3 separate regions of the Homo sapiens genome follow, and regions 1 and 2 are each linked to region 3. The links are contacts of gene promoters, found by promoter capture Hi-C in blood cells and fetal thymus (Javierre and others, 2016). All regions are on one chromosome and are shown on one strand. The core of a region is centred on a gene start or on the middle of the fragment in contact, and the rest is flanking DNA. Distances in the headings are between cores, read along the strand shown. Region 1 overlaps GAB1 (GRB2 associated binding protein 1). Region 2 overlaps GAB1 (GRB2 associated binding protein 1). Region 3 holds the start of GAB1 (GRB2 associated binding protein 1).

Region 1 (2,946 bases), core at 142-2,641, 51 kb after region 3:
AATATTTTTTATTTTTAAGACAGAGTCCTATTCTGTCACCCAGGCTGGAGTGGCAGTGGTGTGATCATGGTTCACTGTAGCTTTGACCTCTTGGGCACAAGTGATTCTCCCACTTCAGCCTCCCCAGTAGCTGGGACTAAAGGCATGCACTACCATGCCCAACTAATTTTTTGATTTTTTATAGGGATGAAGTCTTGCTACATTGCCCAGGCTAGTTTCAAACTTCTGGGCTCAAGCAATCCATCTACCTCACCTTCCCAAAATGCTAGGTTTACAGGCATGAGCCACTGCGCCTGGCCCAATTTTATACAATATTTTAAATAATTTTGTATATGAAACAAATTTTGATTGTGTTTTGACTGCAACCTGTCAAATGAGGTCAGGTATGTGAATTCTCATTTGTAGTGTTGTGTCAGTGCCCAGAAAGTGTCAGATTTTAGAAGATTTTGGATTTTCAGATTAGTAATACACAACATGTAGTTGCTGCAGAGATCATATGGCCTGCAAAACCTAAAGTATTTATTATCTTGCCCTTTACAGAAGATTTTTTTGTTGATGTCTACTGTAGACAATGGGGAAATGAACATGGGAGGAGCAACTGGTAGTCTCTGCCACAGTAAAGAGAATGATAAGAAGGGTGAATCACTGCCTTTGAAATGTAGAGTTAGAACTTTGTACTTAGGCATACTAGTGGCCCATGGGGCAGTGAGTTGGTATGCAGGTGATTGGTTTTTTGTTGTTGTTGTTTGTTTGTTTGTTTGAGACAGAGTTTCGCTCTTTTTGCCCAGACTGGAATGCAATGATGCTATCTTGGCTCATCACAACCTCTGCCTCCTGGGTTCAAGCAATTCTCCTGCCTCAGCCTCCCAAGTAGCTGGGATTACAGGCATGCGCCACCACGCCCGGCTAATTTTGTATTTTTAATAGAGACAGGATTTCTCCATGTTGGTCAGGCTGGTCTCAAACTCCCAACCTCAGGTGATCCACCTGCCTTGGACTCCCAAAGCACTGGGATAACAGGCGTGAGCCACCATGCCTGGCAAGTGATTGTTGAAGAAGCAATGTTCAGGGACAGATTTGAGGAGCCAGGCATGAAGTAGCCTGGTGGAGGTAAAGGGATGAAGGCACAGAAGGCTGCTTACTGACGTGAGCTTCCATCTTTAAAGTGGAGCATCCTAACTCCTGGACTTTTCCCTCTTCCTGCAGCTCACTGCTCTGTCTTGCATTCGATTCTTGCTTATCAGCAGTGCCACCCCTGTAGGTCAGACTCTTTCCTCCCATTGACTTCTTACGGGTCTCCCTGCCTGGACATTCACCCTCCTCCACAGTCACCTCCTCTAAGTGTGGCTCTTATATTAGTCCCATCTCAAGAACTTCCAAGGAGTCCCTGTTACCTACTCAGTAAAGCCAAGCCTCTAAGGTCCTCCCGCTCCTTGATCCTGATCTTGATCCTATCCTGTCTTCCTTCACAGTCTTACACACACCCTAGATTCCAGCCCAACAGAAACACCTTGTGCCTGCGCTGTACTTTGCCACCACCACGTATTTGCTGTTGTCTCCTTGCTTCTGTCCAAAGGGTTTGGGGATTTGGGACTATGGCTTAGCACATGGTAGAACATTCATGGCTGGGCAGAGGGGGTTTCTGACTTTGTTTTGGCATCTCTCTACATCTGTATTTCCCTCTCCAGCCCCTACCCCCTTCCCTTACAACCTAAGGATAAGCGCTCCCTTTTTGAATGCTCCCTTTTTTAATTATACCAAGTACTATATATAACTCCCAAGGCACTTACTGCTTTCTGTGTGGGATTATAGTTATTCCATGTATGTTTCTAATCTTCTTGCAGAGAAAGAATCTGAGGCCAAGTCCAGATCTGACTGATCAGTTTCATCTAGTAGGTGCCTAGTGGCTATTTTGTTGATCAGTGTTGCAATGATGGTGTCTACAAACAGTGCTACCTACAATTTAGTGTGTTTCACTAAAAATGTAACTTAACACCTGGAGGAATTTAAGTGCAAATGCAAATAGAGGTTTTTTTGTGTGTGCGAGACAGAGTCTCGCTCTGTCGCCCAGGCTGGAGAGCAGTAGAGCGATCTCGGCTCACTGCAACCTCCACCTCCCAGGTTCAAGGAATTCTCCTGCCTCAGCTTCCCGAGTAGCTGGCATTACAGACGTGCGTCAACACGCCCAGCTAATTTTTGTATTTTTGGTAGAGATGGGGCTTCACCATGTTGGCCAGGCTGGTCTCGAACTCCCGACCTCAGGTGATCCGCCCACCTCCACCTCCCAAAGTTCTGGGATTATAGGCATGAGTCACTGCGCCCGGCCTAGAGTTCTAATAATTGTGTTGAAAATAAATGCCACTTAAGATCTTAAAAACACCAATTTTTAGGTAGTTTTTAGCAGAAAAGAAAAAAAAATCTATTTAACTGTTTTCTTCAGACCTGAAGCAGTATTTAAATACATTCATATTTAGAAGTTTTAAACAGTTCCTTGAAAAGCCAAGGCTGAGCCAGAAATCAGGCAGAGCTTTTGCAAGGCATAAGGAGGAGCATGTGGGCAGAAACCCCTGTGAGTGCAAGAGGTGGGCCACCTGCAGGAAAACTGCCCAGTCCACTCTGCAGAGAAGGATTGGAGCATTTTCTACACCAGCCTGCCAGGGACACACCTGACTGCACAAAGATCCATCTAAAATCACTCACATTATACTCACAGAAGGTGGTATTTTCACAGCTTCATCTTTCCGCAGTTGGTAATCAAATGTAAGAAGAGCTTTTATTTTTATAGGAATGATTTAGCTTATGGAGTACCAATCTCATCCTTTTCCTTCCTCTGTCTTTTTAACCAAGCATAGAATGAGGAGACCAATGTATATAATCAAATACTTGCGTATGCTGGAAAAGAATTTATGTCATTCACTCATCTCCTTTTAATTAAAACCTAGTGAG
Region 2 (2,802 bases), core at 47-2,546, 34 kb after region 3:
TGGCCAGGCTGGTCTCAAACTCCTGGCCTCAGGTGATCCACCCACCTTGGCCTCCCGGAGTGCTGGGATTACAGTTATGAGCCACCGCACCCGGCCATTTTTTTGTATTTTTAGTAGAGATGAGGTTTCACCATGTTGGCCAGGTTGGTCTCAAACTCCTGACCTCAAGTGATCTGCCTGCCTCAGCCTCCCAAAGTGCTGGGATTACAGGTGTGAACAACCGCAGCTGGCCAAGAAATACCAGCTCTTACCAAGCACTTTAATTCATTTAGTTTTTCACTCTGGCTACAGTGAGAAAAGACAATGTTTTTACACTTGATATACTTTTTATAAGAAAAAATCAATGCAGGATGAAAATATCCTGTTGCTCTAGTAATTCCCACAGAAGGTCAGCCTCAATAATAGAAGATGAAAAAAGTTTTGTGGTGTTTGCTGTTTTATAAACTCATATTTGGAGAAGGAACACAATATATATATGATTTCCTCATAACTGCTGTTGGTGCCCCAGATTTGATATTGTTGCATGATAACCTGACATTGCTTCCTGCTTCTGAAGGAATGATTGGATTTGAAGCCAACATGCTTGCTAAACCGGGAAGCTGCTATTACAGAAGGCACAGGAAGTCAAGCTGCCTATGCAGTTGTGCTGAGACATGAGACTCATACGTTGTGACCCGTGCCTATTGTATGTCTCCCCATCTTTATAACTGCTTTTGAAAACTGGCTTCAAATAAGCAAAAGGCCTAGTGTTATTTCCATAGCAGCACTAAAATTAATGAATAAGAGTTACAGAGTTGGCTGAATATAAAGGAGATATGTCTAACAATTACAGTTCTCCAAAACCTAGTGTGCTCCCTCTTTGTCCTTGTAAGTGGTCAAACAAAAATGGCATAAGCACTCACTTAGGTGTTGCATTGGTCAGGGACCTGGTGGGAGGCGGATGGCACACACAAGTTGGATAATTTGGGGAACATTTCATAAAAAGACAGTAAAAATGTAGGGTATAGTAAGAATATACAAGGGCAAGTAAAAGGGTATGGGGCAAGGGCTAATATCTGTACGTGAGGAAGAAAGAGGAGGAAATGTTATCAAACCACTGGCTGTGTACAAATGGCTGCCTTATAGGAGCTGAGGTCTGCAGTCAAGGGAGACTGTCCACTGAGAACATACAGGGACACAGCCAGCAGTTCTGTTCCCTGACCCTGGGCTCTTCTGTCTCCAGCCATTGTCCCTTTTGACTAAACACAACCAGTGTAGAACAAGGATTGTTGCAGTCCTTGACAGATCAGACTCTTCAGGCTCAAAGAGTACAAATAGGTGGGGAGTAGATTGGAGTTAAGTGGAAACAGTCCTGTGCAGATGTTATAGTGAGTGGGATATCCCTGCTGTCCTCATTGATAGTACAGAACTCTTTTTTTTTTAAATTAAAGTTCTAGGGTACATGTGCACAACGTGCAAGTTTGTTACATATGTATACGTGTGCCATGTTGGTGTGCTGCACCCATTAACTCGTCATTTACATTAGGTATATCTCCTAATGCTATCTCTCCCCGCTCCCCTGACCCCACAACAGGCCCCGGGGTGTGATGTTCCCTGCCCTGTGTCCACATGTTCTCATTGTTCAGTTCCCACCTATGAGTGAGAACATGCAGTGTTTGGTTTTCTGTCCTTGCGATAGTTTGCTCAGAATGATGGTTTCCAGCTTCATCCATGTCACTACAAAGGACATGAACTCATCCTTTTTTATGGCTGCATAGTATTCCATGGTGTATATGTGCCACATTTTCTTAATCTAGTCTATCATTGATGGACATTTGGGTTGGTTCCAAGTCTTTACTATTGTGAATAGTGACGCAATAAACATATGTCCGCATGTGTCTTTATAGCAGCATGATTTATATTCCTTTGGGTATATACCCAGTAATGGGATGGCTGGGTCAAATGGTATTTCTAGTTCTAGATCCCTGAGGAATCGCCACACTGACTTCCACAATGGTTGAACTAGTTTACAGTCCCACCAACAGTGGAAAAGTGTTCCTATTTCTCCACATCCTCTCCAGCACCTGTTGTTTCCTGACTTTTTAATGATCGCCATTCTAACTGGTGTGAGATGGTATCTCATTGTGGTTTTGATTTGCATTTCTCTGATGGCCAGTGATGATGAGCATTTTTTCATGTGTCTGTTGGCTGCATAAATGTCTCCTTTTGAGAAGTGTCTGTTCATATCCTTCACCCACTTTTTGATGGGGTTGTTTGATTTTTTCTTGTAAATTTGTTTAAGTTCTTTGTAGATTCTGGATATTTGCCCTTTGTCCGATGGGTAGATTGTAAAAATTTTCTCCCATTCTGTAGGTTGCCTGTTCACTCTGATGGTAGTTTCTTTTGCTGTGCAGAAGCTCTTTAGTTTAATTAGATCCCATTTGTCAATTTTGGCTTTTGTTGCCATTGCTTTTGGTGTTTTAGTCTTGAAGTCCTTGCCCATGCCTATGTTCTGAATGGTATTGCGTAGGTTTTCTTCTAGGGTTTTTATGGTTTTAGGTCTAACATTTAAGTCTTTAATCCATCTTGAATTAATTTTTGTATAAGGTGTGAGGAAGGGATCCAGTTTCAGCTTTCTACATGTGGCTAGCCAGTTTTCCTAACACCATTTATTAAATAGGGTATCCTTTCCCGATTTCTTGTTTTTGTCAGGTTTGTCAAAGATCACATGGTTGTAGATTTGTGGTATTATTTCTGAGGGCTCTGTACAGAACTCGTTTTTATGAAGAATCATTGACTTTCAAAAATACTTGAGGTTACCCA
Region 3 (3,067 bases), core at 353-2,852:
TTGCTCTTGTTGCCCAGGCTGGAGCGCAGTGTCGCGATCTCGGCTCACCGCAATCTCCGCCTCCCGGGTTCAAGCTATTTTCCTGTCTCAGCCTCCCGAGTAGCTGGGATTATAGGCGCGCGCCACTACGCCCGGCTAATTTTTGTATTTTTAGTAGAGATTGGGTTTCTCCATGTTGGTCAGGCTGGTCTTGAACTCCCGACCTCAGTTGATCCGCCCGCCTCGGCCTCCCAAAGTGCTGGGATTACAGGCGTGAGCCACCGCGCCCGGCCAAGTGTCCCTCTTCTAGTCCAGCATCCGAACAGTAGATTTCAAACAAATACAAAGTTAAGTGGAATAGGCAACAAATGGAAGGGGTGTGAGACTTCAAAATGTCTCAGAGATAGGACCCAACCAAATCCTTGGCCTCGCCAAGCGCCCCCATCACTCTGGCAGAACAGCTCCAGAGACCAGCCCTGGCCAGCCCTGGGTCCCCATCTGTCCTCCCCTCCAAGCTGGTAGCTCCCGCGCCCTCTTGGTCTGTCCTTTAATCTCGCGCGGCGGGGACCGGCAGGATGGTGGTCTCCCCGCGGTTTTGCCTTTCAGGCTCTCAAGTAAAGAAAACCCTCGAAACTCCTGATCTCGAGCACAGCACAAGCTCCGAGCTGGCACCGGGCTGAGTCAAGATGGCAAGCCCCGGACTGAACATTCGAATGTCCCTCAGTCTTCCCCGCGCCCAAGCCCCGGTGCCTCTGCCCTAGCCGAGGCCTCTGCGGTCTTCCCGGGCGAGGAGCCGATTGGGGGCCGCCGGACGGCGGAGGACCCTGCTCCTGCTTCCCGAACTACAGATCCCAGGGTGCCTCTCGGACTCGCGCTCCCTCCCTCCCTTGCTCCCTCCCTTCGTCCGTCTCCTCCCCCGGCCCTTGTTGTTTTGGCTGGAAGCACTCCGGCGGAGTTTCAGAGAAAGTCTGGGCAGAAACCGGAGCCGGGCCTGAACGTGGGAAGGGGAGGAGGAGAGGGAGGAAGAAGGAGCCCGGCGGCCGGGAGAGGGAGGGAGGGATCGGGATCTGGGGCCGAGCCGCTCAGGACCTGCCGCGAGCCCCGGGGTGGGGGAGGCGGCGGGGGAGGAGCGCGAGGGGACGGGACAGCGGGATCCCTCCCAGGAGCCAAGCCGCCAAGCGCCTCGTTCCTCTGCTGCTCCCCGCCCTCTTCGGCGGCCGCGAGAGCGGACCCACCCTCCGGCTTGACCTGCGACCTCCCTGCGCCCGCCGCTCAGAAACGCCCCGCGCTTCGCTGCCAACCCTGCGGCTCCCTCTGTGACCCGGGACCAGCCCCGCGCCCGCTGCCCGTAGGCGGCTCGCGGCTTCCCCTTTCCTCGGCGTTCACCGAGCGCCGCGAAGTGACCCACCCTCCCCCGAGGAGAGGGAAGGAGGATCGCTCCGGGCGCATCGAAACCGAGGGCGGGTGGGCGGGCGAGCGGGCACCGCGCGGGGCATTGTGTGTGTGTGTGTGTGTGTGTGTGTGTGTGAGCAGCGCTGTGTCTGTTTCGGAAAGCGCTCTGGGGAGGTCTTGTCCCTAGGGGGCGGAGCGCAAAGGACAGAAGCTCCGGCACCGAGTCGGGGCAGAGTCCCGCTGAGTCCGAGCGCTGCTGAGGCAGCTGGCGAGACGGCACGTCTGGAGGCGAGGCGGGCGCACTGAAAGGAGGCCGGCGCGCCCGCGGCCCCGGCTCGCGTTCTGTTCAGGTTCGTGGGCCTGCAGAGGAGAGACTCGAACTCGTGGAACCCGCGCACCGTGGAGTCTGTCCGCCCAGTCCGTCCGGGGTGCGCGACCAGGAGAGCTAGGTTCTCGCCACTGCGCGCTCGGCAGGCGTCGGCTGTGTCGGGAGCGCGCCCGCCGCCCCTCAGCTGCCCGGCCCGGAGCCCGAGACGCGCGCACCATGAGCGGTGGTGAAGTGGTCTGCTCCGGATGGCTCCGCAAGTCCCCCCCGGAGAAAAAGTTGAAGCGTTATGTAAGTAGAGCTGCGGGCACCACTCCGCGGGCCTCGGCGTCCACACCCCTCCCCAGTCGGCTCGCCGGCGGCTGCAGCTGGCCGCGCGCGGGGCTGGTTCTTAAACGAATGCCGGTCTCTTTCCCCTTGGCCCCTACCCCTGGCGGGCTCGGGACAGGGTGCCTTGCACTCCCTCACGCCCAGGCATCCACTTGGCCGGACAACTTTCTTCCTCCAGGTTCCAGACAGCCTGCTTTGCGGGCCTGTTCGCCCCATAAAAGGACCTAGACGTCCAGCTAAACTCCTGCTGCATGCTTTTTTTCTTCCTTAGGAAGGATGGGGTGCGATGGAGAGAGGAGCCTTCTTCCTGCTTTATTCCTGCATCTGATTATTGGGCTGATGTGTGCTAAAGCTCCCGCACCGGGAAAACTGCCGAGGTTTTAGGGCTCACTAGCCCTTTCTTTGGTGGGCGCTCCCTCTCCTCCGCCCCTCGAGATGGGTTGCGGGAAGCGGGCTGTGGAGCTGAGGAGTTGGTAGTAGAGACAAGCATATCGAACGCGCGCAAAAGGGAAAGAAAGAAAAGTTATTACGCGCCCTGCCGTTTGCTTAGCAGGGTTCACATTTTCGCGGTTTTGAATTGAGGGACTTTGGAGTTTGGCCCGGGAGCCTTGGCGGTTTGCTGCGAGAGGAGGGCGCTGGGGGGGAGCCTAGTGGCTGGTGTTTGGGCGCCTTGGATGTGCTGTCAAACTCGGCAGGAGGGGACAGCTGAAGCCAGAAGGGATTTCAGTTGCGGTCCTTTCCCAGGGAACCAGAGTGGCTTTAATGGTGTTTGTGTAATTGATACAAGATGCTATGTGTTAAACCGTTTTAGCTGTTAGGAAAAATATTCCTTGAAAGTATCAACCTTGCTTTAGTGGAAACCTGTGTCCTCTTCAGAGGTCTGGGATCTTATTCTTCCTCCCCATTGGTTGTTTTGTTGCTGCTCCCTTGCAAAGGAAAGAAATGACACTTTTGTGCTGACATCTGGATCAAATATTTTTCTAGTAAAATGTGTTTGCAAAAGCAAAATTTATGCCCCCTTAAATATAATATAAATTTAAT

What was found. The method cuts DNA at HindIII sites, captures the fragments that hold promoters and counts their contacts. A CHiCAGO score of 5 or more calls a contact.
Region 1: a fragment that was not itself captured here is called in contact with the fragment with the promoter of GAB1 in region 3 in 3 of 17 cell types (neutrophils, naive B cells and total B cells); the score reaches 12.5 in neutrophils.
Region 2: a fragment that was not itself captured here is called in contact with the fragment with the promoter of GAB1 in region 3 in 2 of 17 cell types (neutrophils and total B cells); the score reaches 10.9 in neutrophils.

Annotation. Positions count from the first base shown.
Region 1 is chr4:143,386,389-143,389,334 of GRCh38, forward strand. All of the region lies in intron 1 of GAB1 (GRB2 associated binding protein 1), which reads left to right. Among named protein-coding and RNA genes, the nearest start is that of MIR3139, 44 kb to the left of the region's middle. The HindIII fragment of the contact is 4,162 bases long and covers 1-2,946 here.
Region 2 is chr4:143,369,145-143,371,946 of GRCh38, forward strand. The region is part of intron 1 of GAB1 (GRB2 associated binding protein 1); the gene reads left to right. Among named protein-coding and RNA genes, the nearest start is that of MIR3139, 27 kb to the left of the region's middle. The HindIII fragment of the contact is 3,961 bases long and covers 1-2,802 here.
Region 3 is chr4:143,335,274-143,338,340 of GRCh38, forward strand. GAB1 (GRB2 associated binding protein 1) reads left to right here and starts at 1,603. Exons shown (of 10, transcript NM_002039.4): 1 at 1,603-1,987. The coding sequence starts at 1,916. It also overlaps the pseudogene LOC124900789. RefSeq lists enhancers at 410-619, 1,529-2,342 and silencers at 812-979, 920-1,219, 1,320-1,379, 1,450-1,499. The HindIII fragment of the contact is 8,165 bases long and covers 1-3,067 here.